Linked DNA regions of Homo sapiens: region 1 is linked to region 2. Evidence: promoter capture Hi-C in human tissues and cell types (Jung and others, 2019). All regions are on one chromosome and are shown on one strand. Each heading gives the region's core, a stretch centred on a gene start or on the middle of the fragment in contact. The rest is flanking DNA. Distances are from core to core; before and after follow the strand shown.

Region 1 (4,726 bases), core at 1,038-3,537, 55 kb after region 2:
GCAATGCCAGGAGCTTTTCTGTAATATTAGAGACCTACAAGAGGGGCTATAGTACAGCAGGTAAGAGCTCAGGTTCTAGAGACCTGGCTTGAAAACTCCACTTCACCATTTATTAACCATGTGACCTTGGACCTCTCTATAGATCAGTTTATGTATCTATAAAATGAGGATAATAATAGTACTTACCTCATAGGGTTGTTAAGAGAGTTAGATGACATATAAGCACAACAGCTGGTACATATTAAGAGATAGTACCAAAACAAAGACTTTAAGATTGCCAAATTAAGATGGCATCCAGAAATGGGGTAAGATAATCATTCGCTGAAGGAGAAATGAAGCAGGAAAGAGAATGTTCTTTGGTTTCCTTTTTCTGTATAAAAACCACCCCGAAGGTAGTAGCTTAATGTATTATAACAACAGTAATTTATTTTGCTCATGGATCTACAACTTGGGCATGGCCTGATGGGGAGTGCTCCTCTCTGCTCCATGCACAGCCAGCTAGGGCTGCTCAACTGGGAGCTGAAAGACCCACTCTCAAGATGGTCCACTCAAATACTGGCTATTATCTGGGAGCTCAGATGGCCTGAGGGCTGGAAGTCTGGTTCTGTCCTGGTAGGTCTCTCCACAGGCTACTTGGGCTTCCTTACAACATGGTGACAAGGCTCTAGAATGAGCATCCCAAGAGAAATGGAAGATACCAGTTGCTTAGGCCTTGGCCTTAAGAAACAGGTACAGCATCATTTCCACTGTATTCTATTAGTTAAGTAGTCCTAGAGCCCAGAATCAAGGAAGAACACATAGACTCCACCTCTAAGTGGAAAGAGTGTTGAAGAGTTTGTAGACTTATTTGAAACCTGCCACAACAGGTAACCCCAAAGCTTGCCCAGGCTCGGATTATTTCCTGAGTCTTCTGTACCTTCAGAGGGGAAAGAATGGCACACGATACATCATTGTTGTCCACATCCTTTGATCTATGAATGATTCTCATATCAATGAGCAGTTGACAATGGAAAAGTCCTACTAAATTGACTTAACCCTAAAATGAGATCACTGGGCCTATTAACTCCAAGCTTCACTTGGTAGTGATACCACCACATGTTATTGTCTATGTTATAGCTTACCTTATCCATACATCTCTGTGTGAAGGCTTTCTTTTATCTTGATGTTTCCCTCAAATTTCATACAAGTATAATAACTAATGGCTAATTTATTGTGCCCTCTGAACCTAGTCATCGTGGAAAAAGTTAGCATTTGTCATGCTTGTTGTCAGTTAACCTTCTTTTTCCAGAAAAGAAGCCAAATCCTATTATGGTAAACTAGCCTCTTCACCCCCCTCTCTAGATATCGGGAATTTTTAGTTAGAGTATATTTTTAATTAGACAGTATATTTGATTTTATGTTAAAGTAAGTTCAAGATCATTTGTTCTAGAGAAAGGACAAGAAAGAAATTTGAATTTCTATTAAGTCATTTTATTATATTTGCTTTCTGTAAGGCAAATTTTGCTTTCTTCTAATAGGCATAAAATTTCCACATGATTGTAATATAAAAGTCTACCATTTAAAAGGTTTGAGTTCAATTTTATTCAAATAAGGGATAATTATTTTAAAGTACTTAATATATTTCTATGTATAGCCTTAGCATAATTGATAAAATGTTTAAATAATAAGGTAAGAGGGATAAAAGTTGTAGTTACTTCCAAAAGCACTAACATGTACTTGCCTTAATATTTTAGTTGCCTGATTCCTCTAAGTTACAGAAGAGCTCTAATTCAGTATCCTACTCACTTCTCAGAAATAACAGGCACGAGATATATATATATACATATATATATGTTTCTTCATTGTATATCAGATTTAATGGTATTTAACAATGAGAATTTAGTTTAAAATGTAAAATTCCACCCAGACTCTAATAGGATTCTGTCTCTTTAAATATGAAGAACTTCTAAATAAACTTCATATTAGCCAAAATTCCTTTTGACTCAAATTCATCTGGACTGTCTTTGATTTATGATTATGGTGGCCATGCAAACTAATTTGACATGCATAATATGCACAGCAGTAGTGAAAGCAAAAGTTCAGCAATTCCACTGAAAACTGTACTACTTGCACTGCTATATCTGCTTCTGAATTATGGTACTTGGAATTTTGTGCCCTTAAGGAACTGTTTGTTTTTCCAGACTGGCTAATGCATCAGGAACTTGGCTTCAAATAATTATTATTAAACAAATACCCTGACACCTTTTCTATGGGACTTATCAGAGCTGTGAAATTAATTGAAAATTGAGTATATGTAACAAATGGGAAAAGCTCCAGGAGTTTTTGTTTGTTTCAATTCAGGAAAATGCAAACATGCAGCTTTTAGCAGAGGAGCCCTGAGTATCAGACTTTGCTTTGCCGGGACAGCTTTGAGCAGACTCCTGGGTTACTGACCTAGGGCAACACAGCCTGTGTGGCTGCGTGAGTCCACTGGCGTCATCTTCAAAGACCATATTTGGGCCTTTCAACACTTCACATCGCGCATTACCCAAGGCCTGCTTAGGTTCTGAGGGTCAGAAATACCTCACACGCATGTGTAACTAACTTGTAATGTTAGTTTTATCTACCCAGCGCTGGTAGAATAGCTGACACTCAGTGGGGCCTGAGCACCTGTTAGCATGAATTGCCTTACCTTCATATATTCTGTTTTTCAGAATTAGGAAACATCTCACAGAGTGAAGATTGACTGCATACCTCTAACAGAGCCTGATTTAAGACAGGATTTGTGAGTTTGGTAGACAATCCTATGAAGTTTTCATTTTACTGTTGACTGAAGACCATACACTGTACGGTGACCCTTATTCAGAATTTTTATCAGAAACCTAGGGCCCCTGAACATGAGTATATAAAGTCTGATGCAGGCCTATACCCTATTGGGGATCTCATGTGCTCACAGTACAGCTACGCTCCTCTCAAAGAGACATCATAGCTAAGGAACAATGTTTTAAAAACAAGTACCAGTGCAAATTAATTAGAAACAGGGCACTGCCTGACGTTAGGAACTCTGCATTCAGAGTGTAGATCTCTCAAAAGTACAGTTAGAGACATCTGGTCAGGATGAAGCAGTGTGCGCAAACTGCAATGAACCTTTTTTGTGCAAAATTACTAGTTAGTGACAAACAAAATATAAAGAGACCTCCAAAAAGACACACTCAGGCTCAGAAACAAGCTGAACAACTCCACAGAGCAGGAACAGCATAGAAATGCTGAGTGGGTTGCAGGGTGGAGCCACAGGCTTGCAGGCTCCAGGTTTTGAAGCAGTCAGGCAGTGTTGGAGACCACTCCATGGGGTAAAGGAGACTGCAAGTGTCTCACTGATTCAGGGGATCCGCACTTGGCCTGCAGCCAGGAGAAGAGGTAAGCTGCCCCACCTTTGCACTTCCCACGAAAGGAAGCTGGAAACCCTCTGCTGACCTGTTGCCTGGGCCTGGGGCCTCGTCCCTGGTTGTGGACAGAGGACAGTGTAAGGGACAGTACTAACCAGCTTGTGGTGCAGAGGTGAGCCATGTTACCTGCTGGCCCAGTGACTGAGTTCACTGTAGCACTAAAATAGCTGGCTGGCAGGAACCCCAATATGCAATTATAAAATTGAATATAGATTAAATCCTTTTACTCAAAATGAGCCTGCAAATCCAAATTCCAAAACACACGAATAAATCTTGTGCTAAGAAAGCCAAAACCCAACAATCAGAATATAATTGAATGAAATTAATTATTAAAAACAGTTTAATAAAACTTTAAAATAGATACACTTAGGATTCTTAATGAGATGATTGAGGCAAACTTCCATTTTAAAATGTCAAGAAATTATGAAACAAAAATAGATGGACATTGTTTTAAAGATCAGATAGATAAAAAGAACCATTTAGAAATCTTAAAAATTCAAAATATAGTCACCGAAAACTTAAATCTCAATAGACTGAATAAACTCTATACTGGACACAATTGAAGAAAAGATTAATAGATTGGAAGATAGTAATAATACAGGAATTCACCCAGTATAGAGTACATAGAGGTTACATTTTACATGAAGGGAAATTAGGGGGTACGGAAGCTAGACTGAAAAGCTCCAAGATATATGTGTCTAATAAATTGGAGTTCTGTCAGGAGAGAGTGGAGGGAATGGTATAGAATAATACCAAGCTTTTCAGAATTAAAGATAATTATGAAGATTTGGTAAGTGCATTCAAATATGAATATCTAGCAGGATAAAGATAAATTTCTACCTAGACACGTAAGAGTCAAGCTGCAGAGCATCAAGAATAACGAGAAATCTTGCCTGTAATTCCAGCACTCTGGGAGGCCAAGGCAGGAGAATCACTTGAACCCAGGAGTTTGAGACCAGCCTGGGCAACAAAGTGAGATCCCATCTCTATAAAAAATAAATAAATAAATAAGAAAAAAAAGAGAAACCTTAAAAAGCTGCCAGAGAGAAAAGAGTGATAATCTACAAAAAAGTGACAGCAGTTCTTCATCAGCAACAAACAATTAAGGAAAGATGTGGAGTAAATATTTTCAGAATGCCAGGGGAAAATAAACAGTCAACCTAAAATTTTTCCCAAGGAAGAAAATAAAAAATAAGTTTATTTACGTAAGAATTTCCCACACACAATCCTCACTAAAAGAAAATTTAAAAGGAATATGCCAGCAAGAAGAAAAACATATTTGGAAAGTAGCCATGGGAATG
Region 2 (5,217 bases), core at 771-3,270:
CTCGGGCAGCTCCCTTCTCTCTGAGAGTCTCAGTGTGCTCATTTTTAAAATGAGGGATTGGGACCATAGCATAATGAAGCATCCTTCCAAGGTACACTGAAGACTTAAACCAAGTGAAGCCTCTCATTTTCCCCTTCCATTTATTCCTGTGATAATCCAGGGATTTCCTTGAGATAAAAATGTAGGCTGAACCTCAGTCCTGCACTCGAGGTACCAGTTACGACAGTCTCAGAGTCACTGCAAATACTTAAGAAGGAGGCTGGGAGGGTCCCAAGGAAGGAGCTATTGCCTCTCCCACCCCCAGCCACGGAATAACACACCTTCTGGCTCTACCTGGCTTTGCACTGTCCCCAGTATCCCAGTTGGCATTTCTCCAAATTGGGAGTCAAAACTCATGAGTGCATGCTGTTGCTCTAGCGTCTTCCAAGGCCAGCACTGCCACTGAAGAGAGGAGGCTCCACGGTGGCAAGGGAGCTCCAAGCAAGCTCCAAATTGCACTCATCCCAACTACTGCTGCTGAAAGTCTTGGGGCTACCAGAAAAATGAGCATCTCCTGAGTGTCAACACTCTGGTCGGCTCCGGGAGCATTGGTTTTCCTTATAATCAAACCAGAGGAGACTAAGGGAAGACAAGGAGGCTGGACACCATGAGACTTGCCCAGGACAGAGATCAGAGACTCAGTTGGGTCCCCAAGCGCGTTCCCTGGGGAGCTTCTTGGAAGAGACGACTTGGGGACCAATTTGGAATGCTAGTGGGAAGGGATGATTCTGGAATCTGGCCCCCACCTCTAACCCCCACTCCCTCCCCATTCCTTCCTTTCTGCTGGTCTGGGTGGGGCCACTCTCTTTATCAGAGATCCCGGAGCTCAGAGAGGCCCGGGACTCCCAGGAATTTCTGTTGGAAAGAAAAACAAACCACCCATCCTGCCGCTATTATTATTATTATTATTATTATTATTATTATTATTATTATTATTATTTTCCTCCTCCAGCCCCTTGCCAGGACCTGGCTTTGGGGAACAGCAGCGCCCTGGAGCCACCAGGCACGCAGACATTAGGGAGCCGCATCCCACACGAGACGGTGTGGGGAGAGCGGCAGGCGGTCCCATCGCAGACCCAGAAGCTCCTGCCAGAGCTCCCTCAGGTTTTCCCATCCGCAGCCCGTGAGTGTGAAAATGTCAAGGTTTGGGGGCAGACTGATACTGATGTGGGTTCCAATCCTCTTTTTCTGACTTGCAGCAAGAATTTTTATTCCCCCTCTCCTCTCCTTTCCTTTCCTTTCTTTGTCTGTAAAGTGACGGTGATAATAGCAGCCTCGAAAGGTGATTACCAGGTTTCAAGGAAAGATTGGAGGCAAAGCGCCCAGGACACAGTAGGCACTGCCACGGGCGGCTCCAGAATTTCCGTGTAGGAGAGTTTCAGAAGCCAGACCAGAGGAAGGGGTCGGTGGTGGGCACAGGGATTCATCTTAGAGCCGCCTTCGTCTGGCGCGCACGATGTTTTTCTTTGGGAAAGGGTCCCTCCGGAGAAGAGCTGGGAGAGATTAATGTTGGGAGGATTGGGAGGGAAGAGTCCCTATTCCTCATGGGAAGATCTGCTAGTCCCTCTCCACCTGCATCCTGCCCGAGGCCGGAGAAAGGGCGAGACTGTCGCTCCCTCGGGTCCCCAGCCTGCAGAAGGGCGCAGTACTCACCGAGTGCGCGGCGCAGGCGAGCAGCACCGGCAGTAGTAGCTGCTGCAGCGGCGGCGACAGGTGGGGACGCATGGTGCCCGCACGTTCCCCGAGGGCGCCCCGACGTCCGCCTGCCCGTGCCCTCTGCCCGCTCGGGAGCTCAGCGCCCCGCGCAGGGTCCCGGGCTCCGGCCGGCCGCTGCGCCCCGAGGAGCCATGGCTGAGCCACCCGACCTGCGGCGGGCCCCGGGACTGCTCCTCCTCGGACCAGGTGGCCGCGCGCGCTAAGCCGCCCGCCCCATTGATCAGGACGCGGCTTTGCCGGCGCGCCTCCTCCACCCGGCAGGGACTGGCGCGGGGTCGGCGCGGAGGCTGGCAGGGGAGGAGGCAGAGGGAGGGCGCGGGGACCCGGAGTCGGCTCCCGCAGGCTGGGCCCAAGCTGGAGGAGGCCAGGAGAGGGCACGCTGGCTTAGCCTTCTACGCGGCAATCCCGCCCAACCCCGGGTCCGGAAAGAGCACTGTCTCTGGAGTCCACGGACAGAAAGCGCAAGCTCGCTGGGGGCCGGTGGGCAACTTAGGTCACCTTTGTAAGCCTCGGCTTTCTCATCCCTAACAACACGTCTGATAATACCCACTCTCGGACTGAAAGTTGTCACACAGTCGAGGCCCATTGCATCTATTCCCCCCGATAGCTACCTTGCACTTTATTTCCGATTTTTTCATTATTGAAGTCATTAGCGCTAATTCCATGAAGTTTCACTCCCATGAACTCCTCCTTTGATGATGACCAAGGAGGATCTGTGGTACACTCAGGCATCTGGGGACCGTCCTGAGGATGAACCCCCTGGGAGGCTATTTAAGCCTCAGGCAGGTAGTCCCAGTAGCCCTCTCCATCGGTGCTGTGTATCCTGGAGGTTTGCTTTTGGCCTCTTAGTACAAGGCGTCTCTTAGTACAAGACGTCCTCTTAGTACAAGGCGTCTCTTTTGGCCTCTTAGTACAGGGCGATGGCCCTTTTTTACTGTTACATAAAAAAGAGAGTCTCACCATGTTGCCCAGGCTGGTCTTGAACTCTTGGGCTCAAGAGATCCTCTCACCTCGGCCTCCCAAAGTGCTGGGATTACAGGCATGAGCCACTGGGCCCAGCACTAGATGGGTCTTGCAAACTCAATTTTCCTTAGTCTGCACTGGTGCCCACTCCCTTCCTTCTTCTCTCTCCTCCTTTCTTGATCTTTCTCCCAGGCACTTTAAGTACATCAGCTCATTTAATTCTCCCTCACACCCCTAGGTGATACGATGTCCATTTGACAGAGGAGGGCATTGGAGGTGGAGGAGGATTCATTACATGTCTGGGTACTGCAACTCAGAGGCTCAGACAGGAAAGCCTGAATCTACCCTTACATGGCTGACCCGACTCTCTGTAACTGGCCCTTACGCAGAAGGCCATGCAGCTGTTAAGGTAACAATGTGTTGTCCTTAGCAGCCTTCCCTACCGGAAGAGACTATTAGTAAATTGAGGCTGGTAAATCCCAGCAGAAATAAAAGGGAGGAAAATCCATTCAGCTCCTAGGTCCAAAACCAATGCTCAGTACACATCAAACCTAAAGTATACATAATCACCAACCCCCTGCTAGAAACTCTTTCTACATAAATACTCACCCAAGGGCCTAATGAAATGTGCAAGGATGTTTGCGGAAGCACTATGACAGTGGCAGGAAACGAGATGATATATGGGGAAAGGGAATCACCCTTATTTCTTTCTTTCTCATGGGCAGCAGTCATTACTATAATGCTCCTGACTTGTTTCTACCCCTTCCCTCTCTCTGTCTGTCTATCCCCCACCTCTCTCTCATGTGCACCCACACGCAAGCATGCATGCAGGCACGTATACACAGGTGAGGCCAGCTTACATGATTGATGCATTTGGAATAAGGAACTGGCATGAGTTCGGTCCCCTCCTCTCTCCTTCCTTTGACAGTGTGCCCCCCTACAGAGAGCCTGTAACTGGATTTCCCTGGGCCAGGCTGTGATTAGTGGTCGAGGCTCTACTGGAACTGGTCCAGTATGAACTGTTGTCTCTCTAATTCTGGGGTTTAGTTAGGAAACCCACTTGCCTACAAGTATAAACCACATTCTGCAATACTGACTTTATAAAGTGATATTTGGCCGCATCTGTCTTGATCTTATTTCTCAATTGGTTCAAGTTTCAGGCTAGAAAGAAAAATGTTATTTCCTAGGCTGCTTGAACCGCAGCACCCTAAATATCCATCGCAAAGTGCCTGAGGTAAGGACTTGCAATTTTTACTATACAGATTTCTGTGTTGTTTGAATGTTTTCTGTAACAACGCTGCGTATGGCTGTTTGGCGTTGAAATAAATAAAAAGAAAACAACACAAAAATGCAATCCGTGCTTTATACCAGAGCTTCGTGATATCTGATGAAAAAACAAAACAACATTAGTTCTGGGCAATTCAATACATTTCTGGCCTGTAGCAAGCCATTCTTGCTTAAATGGGAAGCTCTGCCTCTCAGAGAGTTGAGAAAAGGGATTGAAGTGCTCCCTGAAAGGTCCTTAAAACCTGCCTAAGACAATTTCACAATAGGGGTAGAAGGGAAGAGGTAGGAAAACTAACCATATATTTACCACCTGTCGTGTGCTGGGGAGTCTGTTAGGAAGCTCGGGTGTGTTATCATATCCAGTCCTCCAAGACCATAAAAGAGATGGGAACTTGAGGCTTAGGAAAGATAAGTGCTTGCCTCCATCAGCACAGCTAATAAGGGGAGGAGCCAGGATTTGAATTCAGGACTGAGCCCAAGCCTGTGTCGTGAAGGAAACAAAATATTTCACTCTATTATTTGACATATTTTGAGATGGCTGTTCAGAGGGCCTCCAAACAGAAGTAGCCCTGCAAGGCTGTCTTTTACTGGGGAGATTGCATCTGGAGAGAGAACTCTGCACTGATGCAGCCAGGCTTTCTCTGTGGAACCTCCCATATCCAGATCTAAGAAAGGTTAACTGAGAGTTCAACACCTTAACTGTCTGAAAGACACACACACACACACAATCTGTCCTCTCTTAGGCCTGCTACCTGTGAGGTTTCATCTGCATAACAAGCCCAACTTTACCAGCCAGGCCTCCTCTTCTCCACCACCCCCCAACCTATTTTGCCACACACCATAAGCCCCCATTCTTCCTGTAACTTCAAGATGGAATATGAAAGCGTCCACCCTCTGGCCATTTCTTTGAGTTGTGTTTTGAAAGACTCCTGTGCACATTTTAAAATTTGCATGCCTTTTCGCCTATGAATCTGCCTTTTTTTTTTTCAGTTGATTTTCAGTGGAACTTCAGAGGGCAAAAGGGAAGTTTTTCCTTGGTGCCTAGAGCTCTTTGCATGGTACTGGGATTCCTCTCCAACATGGAGATGGTCTCCTTGTACTTAGGCTTCACAAGCTCTTTTGTGTGCATCTTCTTATTAATTAACAGAGCTCTGTGAGGTAGGTAGGGATGAGCAGGCAGGGGCCTGGCAGAAGAAGGAGAAACTGTGGCTC

The links. Contacts are between HindIII fragments. The study calls those that stand out against the background at their distance.
Region 1: a fragment that was not itself captured here is called in contact with the fragment with the promoter of SCTR in region 2 in 1 of the 25 tissues and cell types used here (mesenchymal stem cells).

The regions. Positions count from the first base shown.
Region 1 is chr2:119,577,487-119,582,212 of GRCh38, forward strand. The region is part of intron 6 of CFAP221 (cilia and flagella associated protein 221); the gene reads left to right. Among named protein-coding and RNA genes, the nearest start is that of CFAP221, 35 kb to the left of the region's middle. The HindIII fragment of the contact is 5,211 bases long and covers 1-4,726 here.
Region 2 is chr2:119,522,463-119,527,679 of GRCh38, forward strand. SCTR (secretin receptor) reads right to left here and starts at 2,021. Exons shown (of 13, transcript NM_002980.3): 1 at 1,693-2,021. The coding sequence starts at 1,764. The HindIII fragment of the contact is 25,327 bases long and covers 1-5,217 here.